Linked DNA regions of Homo sapiens: region 1 is linked to region 2. The links are contacts of gene promoters, found by promoter capture Hi-C in human tissues and cell types (Jung and others, 2019). All regions are on one chromosome and are shown on one strand. Each heading gives the region's core, a stretch centred on a gene start or on the middle of the fragment in contact. The rest is flanking DNA. Distances are from core to core; before and after follow the strand shown.

Evidence for each region. Contacts are between HindIII fragments. The study calls those that stand out against the background at their distance.
Region 1: a fragment that was not itself captured here is called in contact with the fragment with the promoter of ABCC2 in region 2 in 1 of the 25 tissues and cell types used here (mesendoderm cells).

The regions. Positions count from the first base shown.
Region 1 is chr10:100,164,493-100,170,798 of GRCh38, reverse strand. It overlaps ERLIN1 (ER lipid raft associated 1), which reads left to right. Exons shown (of 11, transcript NM_006459.4): 7 at 3,393-3,451. Among named protein-coding and RNA genes, the nearest start is that of ERLIN1, 18 kb to the left of the region's middle. The HindIII fragment of the contact is 3,080 bases long and covers 3,274-6,306 here.
Region 2 is chr10:99,779,531-99,785,393 of GRCh38, reverse strand. ABCC2 (ATP binding cassette subfamily C member 2) reads right to left here and starts at 2,754. Exons shown (of 32, transcript NM_000392.5): 1 at 2,517-2,754; 2 at 613-786. The coding sequence starts at 2,549. RefSeq lists a silencer at 378-541, a cis regulatory region at 315-578 and enhancers at 1-1,026, 895-1,556. The HindIII fragment of the contact is 27,927 bases long and covers 1-5,863 here.

The DNA of each region.
Region 1 (6,306 bases), core at 3,564-6,063, 380 kb before region 2:
TTTCTCCTGTGTTTTTCATCTTGTCAGTTAATGGTAACTCTTTCCCCTCAAGCCAATCTAGAAGTGTAGGAGGCATCTTTGACAATCGCCTCACCCTCAGCATCTAATCAGTCCCTATGTCCTGCAGATTCCACCACCAAAATCCATGTATTAATAAAACTGACCACACCTCCATCTTCACTGTCATCTCAAGCCAAGCTACCAACTCTAACCTTGACATGTGCAGTAGCAGTAGCCGCCTGTCTTCTTTCCCCACTTTCACTTTTACCTTTGTCTACTTCATTTTCTGCACAACAGCCAGAAGGATCTTTTGAATTTACTTATATTTATTTGCTGTTTTTATAAAAAGTTATTGATTGAAAAAATGTAGTTTTGTTATACGTTCTTAAAGTGGTAGAGATCTCCATTGTTTTAGGGTTTAAAAAAATTTTAAAATAATTTTTATATTTTGCAATAACTTAAGCATACCCTGAGAAGAGAAGAGCTCCTTTGCTTTGGTTGCTTTTGTCTTGTTATAAAATTTTTTTTACAATAGTTGGAATGCATTTTAAGAATTTCAAGGCTGTTTTTGAGCTTTGTTATTTTTAACACATTACCATATGGTTGTGATAATTCAACTTTTTATTTTAAAATCTGGCAAGAGACATCATCTTTTAAAAAATAATGGCCTTTGCTGTTTCTGCCAGCTTAATCTTCCAGATGAGTTTTCATTATCGATATTTTCAAGCTATATCAGGCACCTAAGTGGTCATATACATGTTGTTTTGTTTTGTTTTGTTTTGAGACAGGGTCTCCCTCTGTTGCCCAGGCTGGAGTGCAGTGGCATGATCATAGGTCACTGCAGCCTTGAACTCCTGGGCTCAAGTGATTCTCCTGCCTTAGCCTCCCAAGTAGCTAGGAGTACAGGTACACACCCCCACATCTGGCTAATTTTTTTATTTTTTGTAGAGATGGGCCTTTGCCGTGTTGCCCAGGCTGGTCTCAAACTCCTGGCCTCATGCAATCCTCCAATATAAGTTAAAAATAGAAACATAGTTTATGGCTTTACTTTATCATATCAGCCTTTTTGGTTTTTAGAATTTCTGATTTAGGGGAGAAACTCATATCCTAAGTTAAATTAATACCAATGGATTTAATGAATTTTAATGCTGTTCAATATGTAGTCTTTTTTTTTTTTAATCATTGAGGAATGTGATTGATTCTTGGTAGATTTATCTTATATCTACAACTTGAATTCACTGCCTTCTAGTAATTTTTGGGTTACTATTTTTACAGTCACTATTATATTTTTTTCCTTTCCATATATTTATATACCATTTTTCTTCTTGAAAAACTACTCTGGCAAATTAGAATGATGAAAATGGTCATCTTTGATTTTTTTTTTCCTATGTTATTTAAGGGAGTGACTATATTATAGACTGGCTTTTGATATATAATATATGCTTAAAACCCAGGGGTCAGTTTCAATACATATATTCCTTTCATTAGCCATTTTTTTCCTCCATTCACTCTATGTATGTGAGTGGGATGGGGGCATTATTTTATTATTTGAGGTTAAGAGCAGAGGTTTAATAGGCAAAAGAAACAGAAAGGAGAATAGCTCTCTCTCCTGTGAGGGAGAGGGGTGCCTGAGTGGGACTTCCCACTTTTACTTTTAAAATCTCTTTTGATGCAACTTACTCATGGTATCTGTACAGTAAGTGTTTATGTTTTCACATATTTGAAAATCTGTGAGATTTCCCAAGATTGGCAAGCACAATGTAGTATGTTCTTCAGCCTCATTCAGCAAAATAGGAGTCTTCAAAAGACAGTCCTGGCCGAGTGTGGTGGCTCACGCCTGTAATCCCAGCACTTTGGGAGGCCGAGGTGGTTGGATCACCTGAGTTCAGGAGTTCGAGACCAGCTTGACCAACACAGTGAAACCCTGTCTCTACTAAAAAACAATACAAAAATTAGTCGGGCTTGGTGGCGCATGCCTGTAATCCCAGCAACTAAGGAGGCTGAGGCAGAAGAATCGCTTGAACCTGGGAGGCGGAGGTTGCAGTGAACTGAGATTGCACCACCGCACTCCAGCCTGGGTAACAAGAGCAAAACTCCATCTCAAAAAAAAAAAAAAAAGTCCTACTTTACGCTTCTTTTAATAAGGCTAAAAAGATATGTGGCCAGTCTCTTAATTAAATGCAGTATGACAGTGCTTCCTTGAATCATATTAATCCATATTGGAAGTAATCTTATGTCTGCTAGTCACATGGTGAAATCTGACATCTCACAAAATCTGGTCCTGAATTTTTATTTGTCTTCTGCATGTCTCCACTGAGTTGTGAGGCCTCACATGTGTCACTGCCAGTGTGTTGTGAGTTTTTTCCACACAGCCTTCAGCTGCTTATTCCATTCCACTGTAATCCTTATATTTAGTTATGATTGTCCTCAAAATTACCTACAAATTTGACTCATCTATTTCATATAGGAAATGCTATATCGCTTAAAAGTTTTAAAAGCCTTTAAAGAAGACTAAGTGCTTAAAGGCTTTGTTATTCTTAAAAGGTTAGCCAGTTTTCAGAAGGAAAACTTCTTCAGACCAGCAAAGTGTTTTTTGTGTGTGTTTGCAGTATAGGTGGGGCGGCGGGGTATCGTATGTTTAGTAAAATCAAAAGCTTTTGAGAGATCAAGTCCTTGATGTAGAAAAGTCAGCCTTCAAAAAACAGTACTGTCCAGGTAGATAATCTTAATTGTGTCAAAGAACACTATGATTAGGGAAACAAAGTGTCTGGTAAACAGCCTCTACAAAGACAGACTTTGTTCTAAGTGAGAGTTAAGGAAGAAAGAATATAAGCTTTTAATTGATATTTGTTTTCCTTCAGCCAGTGGGCTGTTTACTTACAGCAAATACCAAGTGATTGCAGGGGTTGGAAGTGATAGATTAATTTACTCACTACTCACTGTATTAAATTGTATACACCAACCTGGGTTTTTTTGTTTGTTTTTGTATTTGACTAATTGTTTCTGACTTTACAATTTCAGTCTTGGAACTTTGCCTTCCCGGCTTCTTTGGTTTACAGGGTTGAAAAAGAAAGCAAAAGTATCTAACGACCTTTGTAAAACATCTTTTAAGTGAGAACCTTTTTCATAAGGCAGTTGTTTCCTCAGTGGGTAGATGGTTTTTCCTGTAATCTGGCATTGTGTAAGGAAATAAGAAGCAGCTTGTCTTTGATTCTTGGTGTGATGGCATGAAAAGTAAATGTTCTGGTGGGATCCCCAAACGTGTTAGTAGGCCGCTATATTATAGCTGTTGTTTATTAGATTAGTATCATTTGAGGGGCTTTTCTGTAGAAGATTTAATTTGAAGATTTATCTTTCAAATATACTTTGGCTTTTTCACTTTTATTTTTTAGGCTGTGCGTGTTACAAAACCCAAAATCCCAGAAGCCATAAGAAGAAATTTTGAGTTAATGTGAGTAATATGCATGGGATCCCAATATTTCTGTTTAGGGCTGTCTGCATATTAATATTCCAGTCTAGAGGAAACATGTGAGACAATACACTCTGGGGTGGAGTATGTGTCTTATCTTCTTTACTCTTACTCTAGTAATATTGCCTATTCTTGTGTCTTAATTCCCACTAGACTCTTACTAGTGTTCTCTTTATGTATGGACATTTCAGGAGCAGTTTCAGTGGCTAAAGATGCAGTTTGCTGTAAAACTATTGCTGGAAGCTTAAGGAGCTATAATTTTATATGAATAGTACCTTGAATTAAATATTTAATAGAGGAAAGAGTCCTGAAGCCGTTAGGGTTGAAGAGAGTGCTCATATTTTGTTTCTGTGTTGTAATGGTAGGAATAGATACCTTGTTGGTATAAAGTTTGGTTTTCCATTGTATGTGATTGTATATCTAAAATTAGACCTGGTTCTTTATAATGTGCCTCTAGGGAAGCCTTGCTTCTGTTGACTCCTGGTAGTCTTCTCTTTTATGTATCCAGGGCTGACTGGGAATGAGAAGACATGAAATTAGTTTCTGACAGGATCCCTTTTAGGGGAATACTTACTGTGTTTGAAATGGCAATATTGTTTTCGTATGACTGGTACTGAAAAGAAGAAATAAAAGTCTTTAGGAAATTTGGCTGATGTGTTAAAAGGGAAAGTATAAGACGCTGGAAAAATAAATTTGCACAAGTCAAGGATACCACAGATGTATAAATACTGGAAGTCCAAGGAGCAGTAATACTACTTTATGAGGTTGTTTACTTCTGAGTCCTTTTTGTTACCATGCAGATTTTTATTGTTTTTTTCTTCTTTTATATTTTCCTTTTCCCTCATACCTTCTCTGAGCTCATACAGAGTTTTATTTCTCTTTTTCTTAATTTTTTTTTTTTTGAGACAAGGTCTTGCTCTGTTGCCCAGACTGCAGTGCAGTGGCACAATCACGGCTCACTGCAGTCTCAACCTCCCAGGCTCAAGTGATTAAGCGATCCTCCCACCTCAGCCTCCTGAGTAGTTGGGACTACCAGTGCATGCCACCACACCTAGCTAAATTTTGTATTTTTCATAGAGACGGAGTTTTGCCCTGTTGCCCAGCCTGGTCTCAAACTCCTGGGCTCAAGCAGTCCTCCTGCCTTGGCCTCCCAAAGTACTGGGATTACAGGCTTGAGTCACCACACCCAGCCTGTTTTCTCTTTTTCATTGTAGACAAAGAACTCTTCTTTTAAAAGTATAAAATGTAGACTGCCAGGCTGGGTAGATTATGGATGTGATCCACTTATTGAAAAAATATTTATAGGCGGGCTGTGGTGGCTTATGCCTATAATCATAGCACTTCAGGAGGCTGAGGCCGGCGGATCACCTGAGTTCAAGAGTTTGAGACCAGCCTGGCCAACATGGTGAAACCCTGTCTCCAGTAAAAATAGAAAAATTAGCTGGACATGGTGGCAGGCACCTATAATCCCAGCTACTGGGGAGGCTGAGGTAGGAGAGTCGCTTCAACCGGGGAGGTAGAGGTTGCAGTGAGCCGAGACCACGCCATTGCACTCCAACCTGGGCAAAAGAACGAAACTCTGTCTCAAAAAGAAAATTTTATTAAACTGTCAGCATGTCTTAGGCTTTAAATATGATTGCTTAGGCTGGGTGCGGTGGCTCATGCCTGTAATCCCAGCACTTTTGGGAGGCCAAGGTGGGCGGATCACGAGGTCAGGAGATCGAGACCATCCTAGCTAACACAATGAAACCCCGTCTCTACTAAAAATACAAAAAATTAGCCAGGCATGGTGGTGGGCGCCTGTAGTCCCAGCTACTCGGGAGGCTGAGGCAGGAGAATGGCGTGAACTCAGGAGGCGAAGCTTGCAGTGAGTCGAGATAGTGCCACTGCACTCCAGCCTGGGTGACAGAGTGAGACTCCATCTCAAAAAAAAAAAAAAAAAAAGATTGCTTCTGGTGACGGAAAAATGAATATTGTGTGTTTTCTGCTCTCAAATAAATCATAGTATTCAGACTGTCATTTGATGTCTTTATCAATGTTATCAGAGGAAAGGGGAAACTTTGAGGGGAAGTGTTTTGGGGAAACTATTGGAGTTACTTTTCAGATGATTCTGGATCTTTCTTAATTTTATGGACTATTGGAATTCCAGAATTAAAAGCTACCTTGGGATGATCCAGTATAACCTTGCACCTGATAGTAGTGTTTTCTTATACCATTTCTGCCACGTGGTTACCCAGTAGCTACTTGTACATGCTTAGTAATATGCCAGCCATTTCCATTACAGGTTTAGTACCCCTTATCCGAAATGCTTGGGACCAGAAGTATTTTAAATTTTGGATTTGTAAAGATTCTGGAATATTTGCATAGACATAATGAGATATCTCAGGGATGGGACCCAGGTCTAAATATAAAATTTATTTATGTTCTTCCTTGTTGGTATAGTGGTTAGTTTTTTTTTTTTAAGGTATTTTATTTATGTCCCATATACACCTATAGCCTGAAGGTAACTTTATAAAATATTTTAAATAATTTTGTGCATGAAACAAAGTTTACCTTAAGTGCTTATGTGTGGAATTTTCCACTTGTGTCATAATGTGGGCTCTCAAAAAGTTTCAGATTTTGGAGCATTTTGGATTTCAAATTTTCAGATCAGAAATGCTCAACCTGTATTAGACACTGGAAGCCTTAGAAAATTCTCCTTACTGTAAGCCCCAGTTTACTACCTAATAACTACCACCTAGTTATATCTTCTGTGCAACAAATATGGTCACTGCACATGGGTGCCCACCTGAGGAGGGCAGGGGCTGAAACCCAGCTTCATTCTGCATGTCAAACCA
Region 2 (5,863 bases), core at 1,505-4,004:
CAGCTGGCTGAGGGCTCCTCCCCTCCTGGCCCCTCCTGGGCCTCTCCCGCAGACCTGTCCTTTCCATTATTTCCCTACTCGTGCTTGTCACTGTGCACACTTACCCCTCCTCCTTCTACTGTGAGTGATCATCCTGACTCATCAAATATGCGGGGAAAATGGAAACCTTATTTCGGACCCAAGTTTTTGAAGATGAGTGATAGTTGGATTGCCTCAGTGGGGCAGGAGATCCATTATCTAGCTCATTTTCACGAGGTAGATGCCAACTGAATTACAGTCCACTGATTTATTAGAGCTGTTTAAAGACAGGTGATCCAGTGTTCATTTCTCAAATGCTATAAAGATAATTTGATTGATTATATGCCCTTTGTGTTTAGGGAACCCAATATCCACAAGAATTAAGAGTCACCATTCTTATGCAAAAATCAAAGCCACTTTGATTTAAGAAATGCAGCAAGGGACCCGTGAGGGAAACCTTGAGCCTGGCTCTACCTGAGACAATGGCACCTGGGACAGCTGCTTAAAGACAAGGAAGAGAACACTAACCACCAAGAAAATGTCTCTACTGTGCACCAAGGAATTAGAGTTCAGAAACAGTGGTGTTAACTTTACCTGCTTAGCAAGATAGAGTTTGGTGGTAGAGGATCTCTTGGTCCTGGATTTATACACGTGGAGAAGCTGCCAGGGGGCCAGGAGCCATAGGTAGCCCAAGGGAATCCACACCAGAACAGTTTGCTCAAAACAAAGTGGCAGGTCTGCCTCCGGACTGTCCAGGAATGAGGAATTCTGGAGACCAAAGGGGAAGGATTGTTGCATACATGCATTGTGAAGACAGAAAACCACCCTGCAGCACATCCCACTGCTTTCACACAATTTAAATTCAACTCCATATCCATATCCAGCCTTACCCTTTAACTATCCGTATTTTCCTATTTGTGCACATGGATACAAATTCACCATTTAATGACAAATGTAGTCACTTTCTGGCCAACCCACCCTCCAAAAACGTGTCTTCTTGTGATTCTAAGTGAATTTTGTACCAGCTATTCTGAGTAAACCTCACCACTGCATTTGCCAAATTATAGGATGAAGAAGGACTGTTCCCCAGTTTAAAGGACAGAATAGTTCCCTGGGATATAAAAAATTATTCAAGTTTCTAGCACTAACTGAACTCACTGGCAGATATTCAAACATGCAGGCGCCATGCAGGGAGAATGCTTAGTCATACTGTAACATTTGCTCTCTGATGGCCCAAAGCGCTTACATTAAAAACCTGGCCAGTTTCAGCACAGCAGTGACAACAGCATTGTTGGACAGAAGGCTTCCAACCAGCAAGTTTTGTGCAGTCTTTGCATTCTGCGATAAATGGAAGTGTCTTGTGAAGTGGAAGTTGGGGGGTGGGGGGTGGGCACCAATTCTTGTATCTGAGTCACATGAGTGTGGATTTTTCTTTTCCTATAAATAGTTAAAAATTGTTTTATATGATTATTTATACAGACTCTTTAAAGAATTGCTTGCGATGCCCTGACCAAGAAAGTTTGTCAGGTAGTTCTCAGAAAGAATTCTCAAGAGATGGCCTGTCTAGATACTATAGCCCATGAAGATCCACCTTGCCGTGGTATACACTCCTGGCCTCGAGGGTCTTGGGACCCAGGTCCTTTCTAAGACACGAGGTGCTGCCCAGGTGCTCTGCTATCTCATCCCTGCCCCTCTCACCTCTATATAAGGTTATCAAATGTTAGAATTCAGAAGAATCACTTAAGATACTTAAACTACATTTATTGCCCCAGGTGATTCTGATGCTGAGGCTAGGAGTTTGCAGATGATACTTTCTCACCAAACCCTTACTAAAATCACTAAATCTAAGGTCCTTTTTTGTTTTCTATTCCACTAGACCTTTGATACTGTTGATTGGCCCCTATCTTGAAATTTTTTGCTATCTATGACTCCGTAATGTTACACTGTTCTTGTTCACCCTCTAAGTGGTGTCTCTTCTTTTCCTTAAAAACAATATTACCCAACTCTAGTTGTTCAAAAATTATTTCAATGCTCATGATGCCCAAAGTTGCATCCCTAGACTCAACTTCTAGTCCATATCATTAGTTGCCAGTTCTAGAACTTATCATTATCATTTCAACATCAACATGTCTCAGCAAGACTCAGTCACGGATCTTCTCTTCCTTCTACTAGCAAAGTATGCAACAACAATTCTCCTTCCTCACACGGATTAAATTGGAAGGTTTTTACCTGTTTCTCTTTAGAGAAGGCAATTTTGCGACTAGCTAGTACAAGAGTCTGATATAAAAAAACATATGACAGAGAATAATTTGCATTACATTTCCCAGATCTTATATCCTCTGGAGATATTATGAATTATGCTTTCTAAAAAGCCTGAGCTTTAGACCAATTGCACATCTAACATTTCTGGTTCTTGTTGGTGACCACCCTAAGTTAACTAACTACCACTTGTTCTGAGTCTGAGAAGAGTCAATATGAAGATAAATGTAATTTCTCACCCAAAAAGTAGAGTTGCAGAACTTCTCCAGCATGATTCCTGGACTGCGTCTGGAACGAAGACTCTTCTATTAATATGATTGTGTTGTTTCTTCTTTACTTGTTTCATCAAAGAAAGTGGAACAGGAATTATCTACCATTCTGATGTTCTCCGTAAAGGATGACCTTTCATCCCAACCATTTAATCGTTAACCTTGCCTAGATGCATGTTACATTGAAACAGTGGATGGACATGTGACTAAAAAGCCCTAGGGACAGGGAGACTCACCAGTTCCCAAAGTACAAGAGGCCTCTGTAGGAGTGGCCATACATAAAAGGAACCACTGAAAGATGTCAACAGAGCTGGCCAACAAATCAAGAGTGCACAGTCTTTCATTTTCCTAAGGACATATGACCCACAAAGGGCAGCATCAGTAGAGGGGCAGGCACCCCTAAATGTGCAGTTTCGCTTCTGCTGCAAGATCTTAGAGTTTATAGAAATGTGAAATATCCTTCTTCCTTAGATTTTTAATTAAAAATATAGAATCTAAAACATGGTTTAAACATGATGTAAACTTTCTTTGAAGAAGTCAGGTTATAAAATAGCTTATCCAGTGTGAGCCTATATGTTATATACATAATACAGGCTTTCAAAAGTTCTATTTGCCTGAGAGGTAGTATGCCAAATGGGAATGAAGCCTTTGCCAGGCATTGTAAATATGATATCATGATAAAACATCAGGGCCAGAGGAGAGGGGTGATTCTGTAAACAGAGTGGTGGCATCAGTCGCTAGAAACTGTCATCGACCCAACCTTTTCTTTTTTTGTTATTGTTTTTTGTTTTTTGAGACAGGGTCTTGGTCTGTTGCCTGAGCTAGAGTGCAGTGTTGCCATCATGATTCATTGCAGCCTTGACCTCATGGGTTCAAGCGATCTTCCTGCCTCAGCTTCCTGAGTAGCTGGGACTACAGGCACATGCCAACAAGCCCAGCTAATTAAAAAAATGTTTTCTGTAGGGACGGGGTCTCACTATGTTGCCCAGGCTGGTCTCAAACTCCAGGCTTCAACAATCCTTCTGCCTTGGCCTCCCAAAGGGCTGGGATTGCAGGCATGAGCTACCGTGCCCCACCTGACCCAACCTTTTGTACTGTCACTTAAATTGCTTTAAGAACATGCTTTTTTCATGATATCATGAACCACCCATGCGGTATCCTAGCTAAAACATAACCACCCATGCAGTATCCTAGCTAAAAAAAATTGGCCTTAAATCTGGTCAAATTCTAGATCTAACTACCGGATTATAAGAAACACAGGAACATGCTAAAGGACTCCATTGGAATGCAATTGTCAAAATCCAGAATGTGGGAGATTCTATAGTGCAAATGATTCCATTTTTTAATAAATAAATTAAAAGAAGGAAAGGAGTCAAAGGAACTTACAAATTACAAGAGAATCAAGAGGCATATCAGCCAAATGTGAATTGTATGGACCTTGTTACTGATTTTAAAAGTCAAGTATACACATAAAAAAAATGAAAAGGCAGCATTCAGTGTGGGAGAAAATATTTGCAGACCATATAACTGATGAAGAGTTAATATCCACAATATACTATAAGGAACTCATACAACTCAATAGCAAACATACACTAACAAATTAAAAAGTGGGCAAAGGACTTGAACAGACACTTTTCCAAAGAAGACATATAAATGGCCAACAGGTATATGACAACTGAATCAACTTCACAAGTCATCTGGAAAACACAAATCAAAACCACAGTTAGATACCACCTCATACCTATTAGGATGGCTATTACAAAAAAAAAAAAAAAACAACAAGATAAGTGCTGGCAAGGGTGTGGAGAAAAGGGAACCCTAGTATACTGTTGATGGAAATGTAAATTGGTCTGACCATTATGAAAACATATGGCAGTTTCTCCATCATTTTCCATACCACTCACCAGAAGAGCCAGGAAAGGTCAGCTGTGGAACTAAGAGATCTCACTTGGGGCAGGGTGCACCTTTAGGCTGCATACTTCTCTTGGCACTGGTGGTAGGACTCGGAGTCCGGGGGAACTCTTGGTAAAACTTTGAGAAATATAAGGTCAAGGATTAACACCTAATTTTCTTTTTTTAATTTTTTTGTAGAGCCTCAAACTCCTGGGCTCAAGCGATCCATTCGCCTCGGCCTCCCAAACTGCTGGGATTACAGGCATGAGCCATCGTGTCTGGCCTAAACGTTCTAAGTAATCAAAAAAAGAGAGGGTGGAGAATCTAAATGTTCATCAAAACAAGTTGCTTAAAGTATAAAATATGTACTCATAGGGAATATTGAATGAGAAAAGCAAGTAAGGAGCCAGGAAGTCATGAATCTTTCCTAACAATAACTAAAAATCTGAACAAATAGAAAAATCAATAACTCTTCTTAGATCTGTAGAGAGATAAGGTTACAGGGCAAACTGAAGAGATAAACAAGAGAATATCAAAAATCACAATTTACTGGCGCAGAAATCTCAGCAGGGGCCGGGCGCGGTGGCTCACGCTTGTAATCCCAGCACTTTGGGAGGCCGAGGCGGGCGGATCACGAGGTCAGGAGATCGAGACCACAGTGAAACCCTGTCTCTACTAAAAATACAAAAAATTGGCCGGGCGTGGTGCCGGGCGCCTGTAGTCCCAGCTACTCGGAGATGCTGAGGCAGGAGAATGGCGTGAACCCGGGAAGCGGAGCTTGCAGTGACTTGAGATCACGCCACTGCACTCCAGCCTGGGCAACAGAGACACTGTCTCAAAAAAAAAAAAAAAAAAAAAAAGAAAAAAGAAAAGAAATCTCAGCAGGAACCAGGGCTAGGGCAGGAAAACCTGAACTGTAATTGAATTGCCGGAGGCCCAGTGTAGATAAGTTTGAGAGAGAAAAATTCCAGAGTGACTCAGCCATAAGGAGGGGATGATCTCCACACTTTCATGAGTTTACCCATAGGAATTCAAAGAGGTTCTCAAATATTGTTCTCTTTTTATTAGAGAAAAATCTCCTCCTGCTTCCATGTCCCTGGCAGAGGGGATAGGAAAAGTAACCATTTGAAATATACCTGGACACTCTATTCTTCTCTTCTAAACAAAGTCTGCCCTTGGGAAAAACTGTTTAAATAGAGCCTAATGCTCTTGATTTATAGGAGCCTAAATGATGCCGGAGAAGGGAAATAAGAACTCCAGTCTCTTCTAGCCTTCCACATGAAAACTGAAAATACCCAGCTGCAGCCCACTCTAGCCATCACGTCCCACCTAACAGGGATCGGGGCAGATAGGAACTGAGAAGCACTTGTGAAATTCAGTCTAGAGACACAGGTTTACTAAAAGACTGAGACCTCTTCACAGAA